2 separate regions of the Homo sapiens genome follow, and region 1 is linked to region 2. The links are contacts of gene promoters, found by promoter capture Hi-C in blood cells and fetal thymus (Javierre and others, 2016). All regions are on one chromosome and are shown on one strand. Each heading gives the region's core, a stretch centred on a gene start or on the middle of the fragment in contact. The rest is flanking DNA. Distances are from core to core; before and after follow the strand shown.

Region 1 (4,298 bases), core at 88-2,587, 540 kb before region 2:
AAATTCAGTTGACTGAGAAGAAAAAACCCCTTTTCCAGAAAAACACAATCCACGAAGAGGAAAAAAAAACATAAAGGCCTTTAAAATGTACGTATAACTTGGATATCTGCTTTTAAGTAAGCTGACTTTTAACCATAGTGCTCCTTAAAAAAAATTCCTTATAAACCTCTTATTACCCTACTTTAACCAGGCCAAACAGACAATATTTCTGGCTTTTAAATGTTACCAAAAGTAACCTCACAGGTGAAACCAATAAGCCTTAGTTACTAAGCTACAGCACTGGACAGTTTCCATTGCCCTTCCCAGAAAGAGCCTAGAGCAGTCAATTTTGAGCTTGCAAAAGCTTTTAACTGCTTGAGATAATTTTTAGAGCTCTGACATAAACTCCAAAATTCCTGTCCTCCAGATGGCTGAGAACAAGAGAAAGTACTGCCACGTACTTAAAAGGTCAAGCTCCCAAGGACATAAAACAAGACAAGCGGGGAACCTCATTCAGTTTTTTTTTGTTTGTTTGCTTCAGGAACCTGCAGCAAAGTTTGTAGCTGACTAGTTTGCTGGGCTAGCTTGAACAGCAGGCTTGTTCTAAGCCCATGTGTCCTAAGCCCATGTTCAATCTTAAGGTACTCCTCTTTATGACAGAATATAGTAAAAAACATTTATAGCAGAAAGTTCCCCAGAGTTGCTATAGCTTAAGACCAGCCTCACAAATCCTTTTTCTCATTAATTAAAATATTGCAAGAGGTAGTGATTTTTACCACACCTATAAGCAGTTTGCACACAGAGAGAGAGAGAGAGAGAGAGAGTGAGAGAAGAAAGGCAAGGGAAGGGAGAAAAGCATTGCCTGCAGTGGGGTGGGAAGACGAGGAGCTTAGGGGAAGCTAGAGAAAGACCCACCATTGCAGTGACACTAAACAAAGTTCAGGTGGTTGCTTGTAATTTGCTAAGGGATCTTTTCCAGCAGTCCCATCAGCTTTCAAGTTTCCCCTTTTGGGGAGAAAAGAAGCTCCCCATGTCCGGTGATCCTGTACATGCCTAATCCCCCCACAGCCATCAGCAAAGAGCGCAAGGCAGATTAATCCAAAGAAAATAGTGGTTAACATCCCATAATGCCAAATTCATTTTTAACCAAGAGATTTTACTGAGAGGGGCCTCTAACCGCCTAAATCTTAAGAAGAACTCTAACCTTCCTAAGTTGGGTCTCGAACCCAAATTTGTCGAGAATCCTTACTTTTTATTAAGAGGGTCATTTAACCCATTCTGTCTTAGGAGAGACTTTAAATCTTCTAAGTTGGGCCTCTAATCCACCACTTAACCATAGTCGGCCAATGGGTTCTGCATTCTGTTTCCTTTGGGTCAGGAGTCTCCTTCGTATCGTTCTTTCATGGTTCACCAGGAGAATGTTACTGGAAAGGGGTCCTGATCTAGACCCCCAGACAGGGTTCTTGGATCTCAAACAAGAAAGAATTCAGGGCAAGTTCATAGAGTAAAGTGACAGCAAGTTTATTAACAAAGTAAAGGAATAAAAGAATGGCTACTCCATTGGCAGAGCAGCCCTGAGGGCTGCTGATTGGCTATTTTATGATTATTTATTGATTAAATGCTAAACAAGGGATGGATTATTTATGAGTTTTCCAGGAAAAGGGTGGGCAATTTCCCCAGAACTGAGGTTTCCTCCCCTCTTTAGACCATACAATGTAATTCCCTGATGTTGCCATGGCATTTGTAAATTGACATGGCACTAGTGGGAGTGTCTTTTAGCATGCTAATGCATTATAATTAGTGATAATGAGTAGTGAGGACAACCAGAGGTCACTTTGGTCGCCATCTTGGTTTTGGTGGGTTTTGGCTGGCTTCTTTACTACATACTGTTTTATCAGTAAGGTCTTTGTGACTGTACCTTGTGCCAACCTCCTGTCTTATCCTGTGACTTGGAATGTCTAACCTTCTGGGAATGCAGCCCAGTAGGTCTCAGCCTCATTTTACCCAGTCCCTATTCACGGTGGAGTCGCTTTGGTTCCGATGCTTCTGACAAAGCTATGAATGAACATCTTTTTACATAAATCTTTATCTACATTTCTGATTATTTCCTTAGGATAGAGTGGAGAGGTTGAGTTATTAAGTCAGACACTTGTAAAATATTTTTTTCCAATATGAAAGTAGCTTTAGTCCTTAAATACTGTATAAATTGCAAAAAGTTCAGAACTTAGGTAGAAGAAAGTAAGACTCCAAGACTTGTACATTTCATAAGAAAGCCCACTTTCTAAGCCTGATGTCTTTAATGTATATTTAGTGTGCACCTTTCCAGTAGTGAGTGGGTGATTCTTTTAATTGGAAAGCTTCCCTGGAGTTGATGTTATTTAAAAAAGAAACCTAAAAATCCTTGTTTTCTACTTTCCTCTATTTCATATGGCATCTTATGGAATTATTGTTTGGTATTCATGTCATGTCTCAATAAAGGAATTAAACAAAACTAAAGCCCAACACAGTTTTAAGCAAATGTGTTATTTAAATTATGGAAAGGCAGTGGGAGAAGAGGTGTGCAGTATTTTGTGTGTGCGTCAAAATGAACTAACACTAGATGGCAGTCCTCTATAACTTTTGGCCTTAGTTGCTGCTGCTTTAGAATAAGGTATGGCAAGAAATCACTAATGGAGGAATGTTGATCCCATAATAATGCTTTGTCTTTTATTAAAAATAAATGTAACTTCTTTGAGTTGCACAACAGGGTGGGTTTTTAAAAGACAGTTAATTATAACAGATAACAGAATATAATATAAAAGCGCTTTCTAGCTGTGCTTCTCAAACTTTTAACTTTTTTAAAACTTTTAAGTTGCATTTGAATTATAAGGGGATCGTGATTAAAATGCGGATTCTTGTAAGTCTGAAATTGGACCTTAAATGCTGAATTTCTGACAATATTCCAGGTAATGCTAAGCTGCAGTGATCTAGAGGTGTGCTATAGCCCTATGTCTGCAAAATGCTTATTTTGTATCAGGCAGTGTTCTAAGAGCTTTTACAGGTTGAAAAAGTAACTGTGAGTGGTGGAGGGAGGATTTCTACCCAGCCTGTCTGCATCTAGAGGCTTCTGGTATTAGTCACACTAAACTGCCTCCTTGATTGGGCTGTGAGTGAATTTACCTCCTCCCCCATTCAGAAAAAACTTTCCTATCAGAATGGAGTGTAGTTTGGTTTGGCTAAAGTTAAGTGCATATCTTTGATTCTTCATAGATTATGGGAAATATGTTAACTTCTGGGTCGTATGTTTGCTTTTTCAGTTTTATTTTTCTGGTTGGTGCTTTGGTTTGTAAGAAAAGTCCAAAAAAATTTAAAATTCCTCCAAAAATTATAATATTAATTGGTTGTATTGGGCTTTTATTTATTTATTTTTGCAGAGGGGAAGTGTGTTTGAAGTTAAAAATGTTCGTTGTTTTTTAAAATTTAAATCCAAGCTGCTTTTTTGAAGGAATATGTGATTTTGGGTTCTAAAAAAATATTAGTTTATCTTTGTTTTTTATGCTCTTGACAAATTAATGCTTGCAAAATTTAGTGAGTAGCATAAGCATAGACAAACAAGTTACAGTTTGGACATATACTAAATCAATTTTGAAAAGGTAGATTTTAATAGATTTAAGATATGTTAGTAATATTGGTGGAATTTATTTGTTTTGGTAATTTGAACTCTACTTGTTTTTGAAAAAAGAACAAAATGATATTTTTGCCAGATTTTCACTTGCTTTTGTTTCTTTGTGTTACTAAAATTTCCAATGGTTGTTAACATGGTATTTTACCTAGTTAAGACAAACTTGCCATTTCAAAATAATATTTGGAAAAAGACAGCATTAATATTGATTCACAGAAAGCCAGTGGTGAAGAAAATAATATTGTTTTAAGGTCAACAGCTGCATATACTTAACGTAGTAAAATAAGATACTTCTTGTAGTCTATGTAGTATCAAGATATTTGAGCTAGAATTTCTTTCACTGATAGTCTGATTTAGAGTCCCTGTAGTAACTGACCCAAAGTCCTCAGTTACCCGAAATTTACCTTGTTGGCTGTGAAAAGATGATGAACCTTATATAGGAATCTTTCAAGTGTGTAACAGGGACACTGGGAAGGAATTGTTGGTTTGTTGTAGGTGCTTGGGCACTTTCAGGGACTGAAGCAAGTCTGGTGTGTTGTTCCTCCCTTACATCATCTCTCTTTGTCCCTCCGTCTGTCCATCCCCTCATCCATTCGATGCATATTTACTAAGAATTCTGAGTGCCCAGGCACTGTGTTAGTTTTCTTGGAATAGACAG
Region 2 (4,001 bases), core at 801-3,300:
ATTACTTTAAGCTAAATTTGATATGCCACTGTAGCCATCCTGCCAGGATGGTAGGAAATTCAGTTGCAGACTTTCCTGAAATGCCCCTTCCTCTCAGTTCCTGTGGCCACTCGCCCAGATCGTTTGGATAGAGTCCTCTGGTCTTCGGTCCACAGGGGTGACTACTGATGTGCTCATCTGCTAAGTCCTCATGCTCCTGGGAGGCTGGTGGCTCCACCATTCCTTGGCAGAGCTTTGCCATTGCTACGATTTCTCCCTGAGGCCCTGTCACCTCCCGAGGGTTGCCAGAGAAGGAGAGCCTCCACACCTGGGATCACAGCTCCCTTCCCTTCCAGTCCCGGGGAGACACTAGAATCCTTTGAAGGTTCCCTTTTCTATCAGGACTGTCTCCTTCTCCACCTTTTGGAGAAGATGAAGGGTAATCTCCCTTGAGAGAGCCTGTGGAGACACAATGATGGCCTCTGTTCTTTAGGAATGGGGAAAAGATAAGTTATCTAGGTTAACTGGGATTAACTAATTCTGTTACTGAGCTGGGTGACAAGATGGGATTGGGGAATTTGTTTGGGGACTCAGTGAGGACATGCAGGAGACAGATTCAAAGAATCACATGTGAAATGGACAGGGCTCTGATCCCTCTAAAATATCTGTTGCTTTCCTTCTTCCACTTCGACCCCTATCCCCCATAATTCTTCTGTCTTTTTTTGGAGACAGAATCTTGTTCTGTCACCAGCCTGGAGTGCAGTGGAGCGATCTTGGCTCACTGCAACCTCTGTCTCCTGGGTTCAAGAGATTCTCCTGCCTCAGCCTCCCGAATAGCTGGGACTACAGGTGTGTGCCACCACGCCCAGCTAATTTTTGTATTTTTAGTAGAGACGGGGTTTCACCAGGTTGGCCAGGATGGTCTCGATCTGTGGACCTCGTGATCTGCCTGCCTCAGCCTCCCAAAGTGCTGGGATTACAGGCGTGAGCCACTGCTCCCAGCCAATTCTTCTATCTTTAAAAGGTAACCCAGGTTGGGAGGGAAGGCTGGGAGCACAGCAGAAGACAGAACTGCTTTGTTGAGCCCCAGAACCGGCAGCGGATACTCCCTGCCAATCACATGGCACTCACCTCTTTGTGTAAATTTAGAAGGTGCTTGCCCAGGAACAATCTGGCTTGACTGTCACAGCCATCCTGCAAGGTAAGTGGGGCAGTCGTTAACCCCATTTTCCAGATAAGGAAGCTGAGGCTCACATTGATTAAAAGACTTGCCCAAAGTAACCAAGCTGTTGAGGGGCAAAGCAGCAGGACATAGCATCCAGGTCTCTTGACTTTTGCTTCAAGAGCCCACAGCCACACTCGGTGCTTAGATGAGGCTTTGGCTTATCAGTGATTTGTGATGTTTGCCTTTTGCCAAAGAGGGGGATGGCTGAAGAGCTAGTGCCCTGACATTCTGGACTCTTGCCAGTAGATTTTGTCTGACTCTTGCTCTGATGCTATTCTTTGTTATTTTCAGGAAGGGGAGCTAGATGTAGAATACATTTCTTTTTCTTGGTAACGTGAACAGCAAGAAGCAAGTAGAGTACATTTCTTATGAGAGAATATGCTCGGGACTTTGATTCATATCTGGTGGGTCCCAAAAGACCAGGGTACTGCAGATTTAAGACCATGTTGCAAATTCGGCATGCATTCAATAGGACTACCTTAGTGAGGGGAGTAATTTTATAAAATTATCAATTCAGTCTCAAAGAATAATAGCAGGAAATGTATTTCTGACTATTTAGAAGTGACTCATTGTGGGACTGTTTGAAAACTATATTATTTTTATCAGTAAATAGAATTGCCTATAGTCAATGTTATCTCTTCACATCCAGGGATTCTAAGATCCGGTTACCCATTTCCCTCAAAACAGCAGATAGCAAAGCCAGGGAAATGAAAACCCACCAAACCTTCTGCAAGGCTGACACCACCCCTAAACCCCACTGCAAACTGATAACACCACACCCTCCTCTGCAAAATAACAGAGGGGCAGATAAGATGAAAATTTTCATTCCAATTAGCAATCATTTCCAGTCAGTGAAACGGCAGAATCAGAAGAGGTTCCACAACCAGAAAATCTTGGCTGGAATTTCACCATCAGGAATAAAACAGAAAAACTAAAAGAGTGCCCCAGATAGCCTTTCTTAGGGGCCTGTGTCAGGTAAGTGCTTTTGAATATTTAAAACAAAGGATGGCTAAGAGTTCTGCAGTCATTTTCCAGTTAAATATCAGATGGTATAAAATATTTTTATAGAAAGTACAGGCCAGGTGCGATGGCTCACACCTGTAATCCCCACACTTTGGGAGACCGAGGTGGGCAGATCACTTGAGGCCAGGTGTTCAAGACCAGTCTGGCTAACATGGCGAAACCCCGTCTCTACTGAAAATACAAAAATTAGCCTGGCGTGGTGATGCACACCAATAATCCCAGCTAGGTCAGGAGGCTGAGGCATGAGAATCGCTTGAACCCGGGAGGTGGAGGTTGCAGTGAGATGAGATCGAACCACTGCACCTCCAGCCTGGGCGACATAGTGACACTGTATCTCAAAAAGAAAAAGAATTCATAATCCACTTTTCATTAGCTGGTATTTGGCCTTACCAAGGTGAAGCATGAAAATGAAATTCTATCTGTATCAGCCAGATTTTCTCAGACACATGTATTCACTGCATGACGGACCCTGGTTTCCAAATTGTTAAGCATACCAGACTCTAGTGAATGCCCTTCCGAAAGGGCCATCATGCAGCAGGCCTTCCCATCGGAGAGCCATGGTCCCAGCCAAGGCAGCTTTCAGGGGTTGCTCCACCACTCTAGGGAGGCGGCCCAGATCTGTCTCTCCCAAACAGTGTCTGGGTTTGACACTTCCTGAGAAAGCAGAGATTGTTCCCTTTGTATGCCATGGCTCTGGAATGCAGCTCTTCCTGTAAGGAAGACAATGGTCTTTATGGGAAGGCTAGGACTTGAAGGAGGTAAGATTTGAACGGCAGAGCTGGGTGCTAGCTTTCCTGCTGAGGGAAATGGTGGGCACAGAACCCCCGCGGTGGGCAAGCTGGGGTGTGGGTGTGCCTGTGGGCTGGCAGGTGACTCTGCCCGGAGCATCGCAGGGGTGGGGAAGAGATCAAGGAGGTAAGAAAGGTAGTCTAGGGGGAGGGGCCCAGAGTTTTGAACACCAGACTTAGGAATCTGGGACATACGTACTGGCCTTTGCCATTCAAAGTGTGGTCCTGGGACCAACAGCATCCTTGGACTTGAAAGCTTGTTAGACACGCAGAAGCCCGGGCTCACCCCAGGCCTGCTGAATCACAACCTGCATTTTAACAAGACCCCCAGGAAATTTCTATCCTCCTTCAAGCACTGCTCTAGGCTAAGAGGAAGCAAGAACAATTTTTAGAGCTGGGGATAAAGTGATGGGAGGAGTGTTTGGGAATGAGGCCACTAGAGTGCTTAGAGAACACTCACTTGGGAGCCCCACAACAATGCAGGCGTGAGTGAAGGAGGGGGGTGGGGGGCTGCGAGGGAGACAGGTTTTCCCCACAAGCCACAAGGCCCGAGGCACGCCTCCTGCCCTGCCTCCACCTCAGGTCGCAGGAATCTTGTTGGTGATCCATCCAGATGTTGTGTGTTCTGGAAGTGGACATCGCGGCTCTGTGTTTTTGAAGTCAGATCTCATTGCTGTGGTTTCTATGCCTGACCCCCCGAAGTTCTTGCTCCTGTTGCCACAGGGAGCCGGGAGAGCACAGAGCGCTGCTCCCGGTGCCCTGCAGCCACACAAACATGCTCCTGCTCCTGGCGGAGGCAGAGCTGCTGGGAAAGACATTTCGGAAGTTTCCTGTGGCTGCAACAAATTGTTCAAATCTGCACTGGAGCACCGCTGTGACCTGTCTTTCTCCATCTTAGGGCAAACAGCTCCTGAAACTGGAAACTCCCCAGCACCTCCTCACCCTACCCCTCAGGCTCTCCTTGTGGGGGTGGGGCAGGGGGAGTT

What was found. The method cuts DNA at HindIII sites, captures the fragments that hold promoters and counts their contacts. A CHiCAGO score of 5 or more calls a contact.
Region 1: a contact is called between a fragment that was not itself captured here and the fragment with the promoter of FLJ20712 in region 2, in 1 of 17 cell types (erythroblasts). The highest score is 5.3, in erythroblasts.

Annotation. Positions count from the first base shown.
Region 1 is chr7:33,183,319-33,187,616 of GRCh38, forward strand. All of the region lies in intron 5 of BBS9 (Bardet-Biedl syndrome 9), which reads left to right. Among named protein-coding and RNA genes, the nearest start is that of BBS9, 56 kb to the left of the region's middle. The HindIII fragment of the contact is 1,993 bases long and covers 342-2,334 here.
Region 2 is chr7:33,723,931-33,727,931 of GRCh38, forward strand. FLJ20712 (a long non-coding RNA gene) reads left to right here and starts at 2,051. Exons shown (of 2, transcript NR_165282.1): 1 at 2,051-2,179; 2 at 3,598-4,001. The HindIII fragment of the contact is 5,749 bases long and covers 1-3,269 here.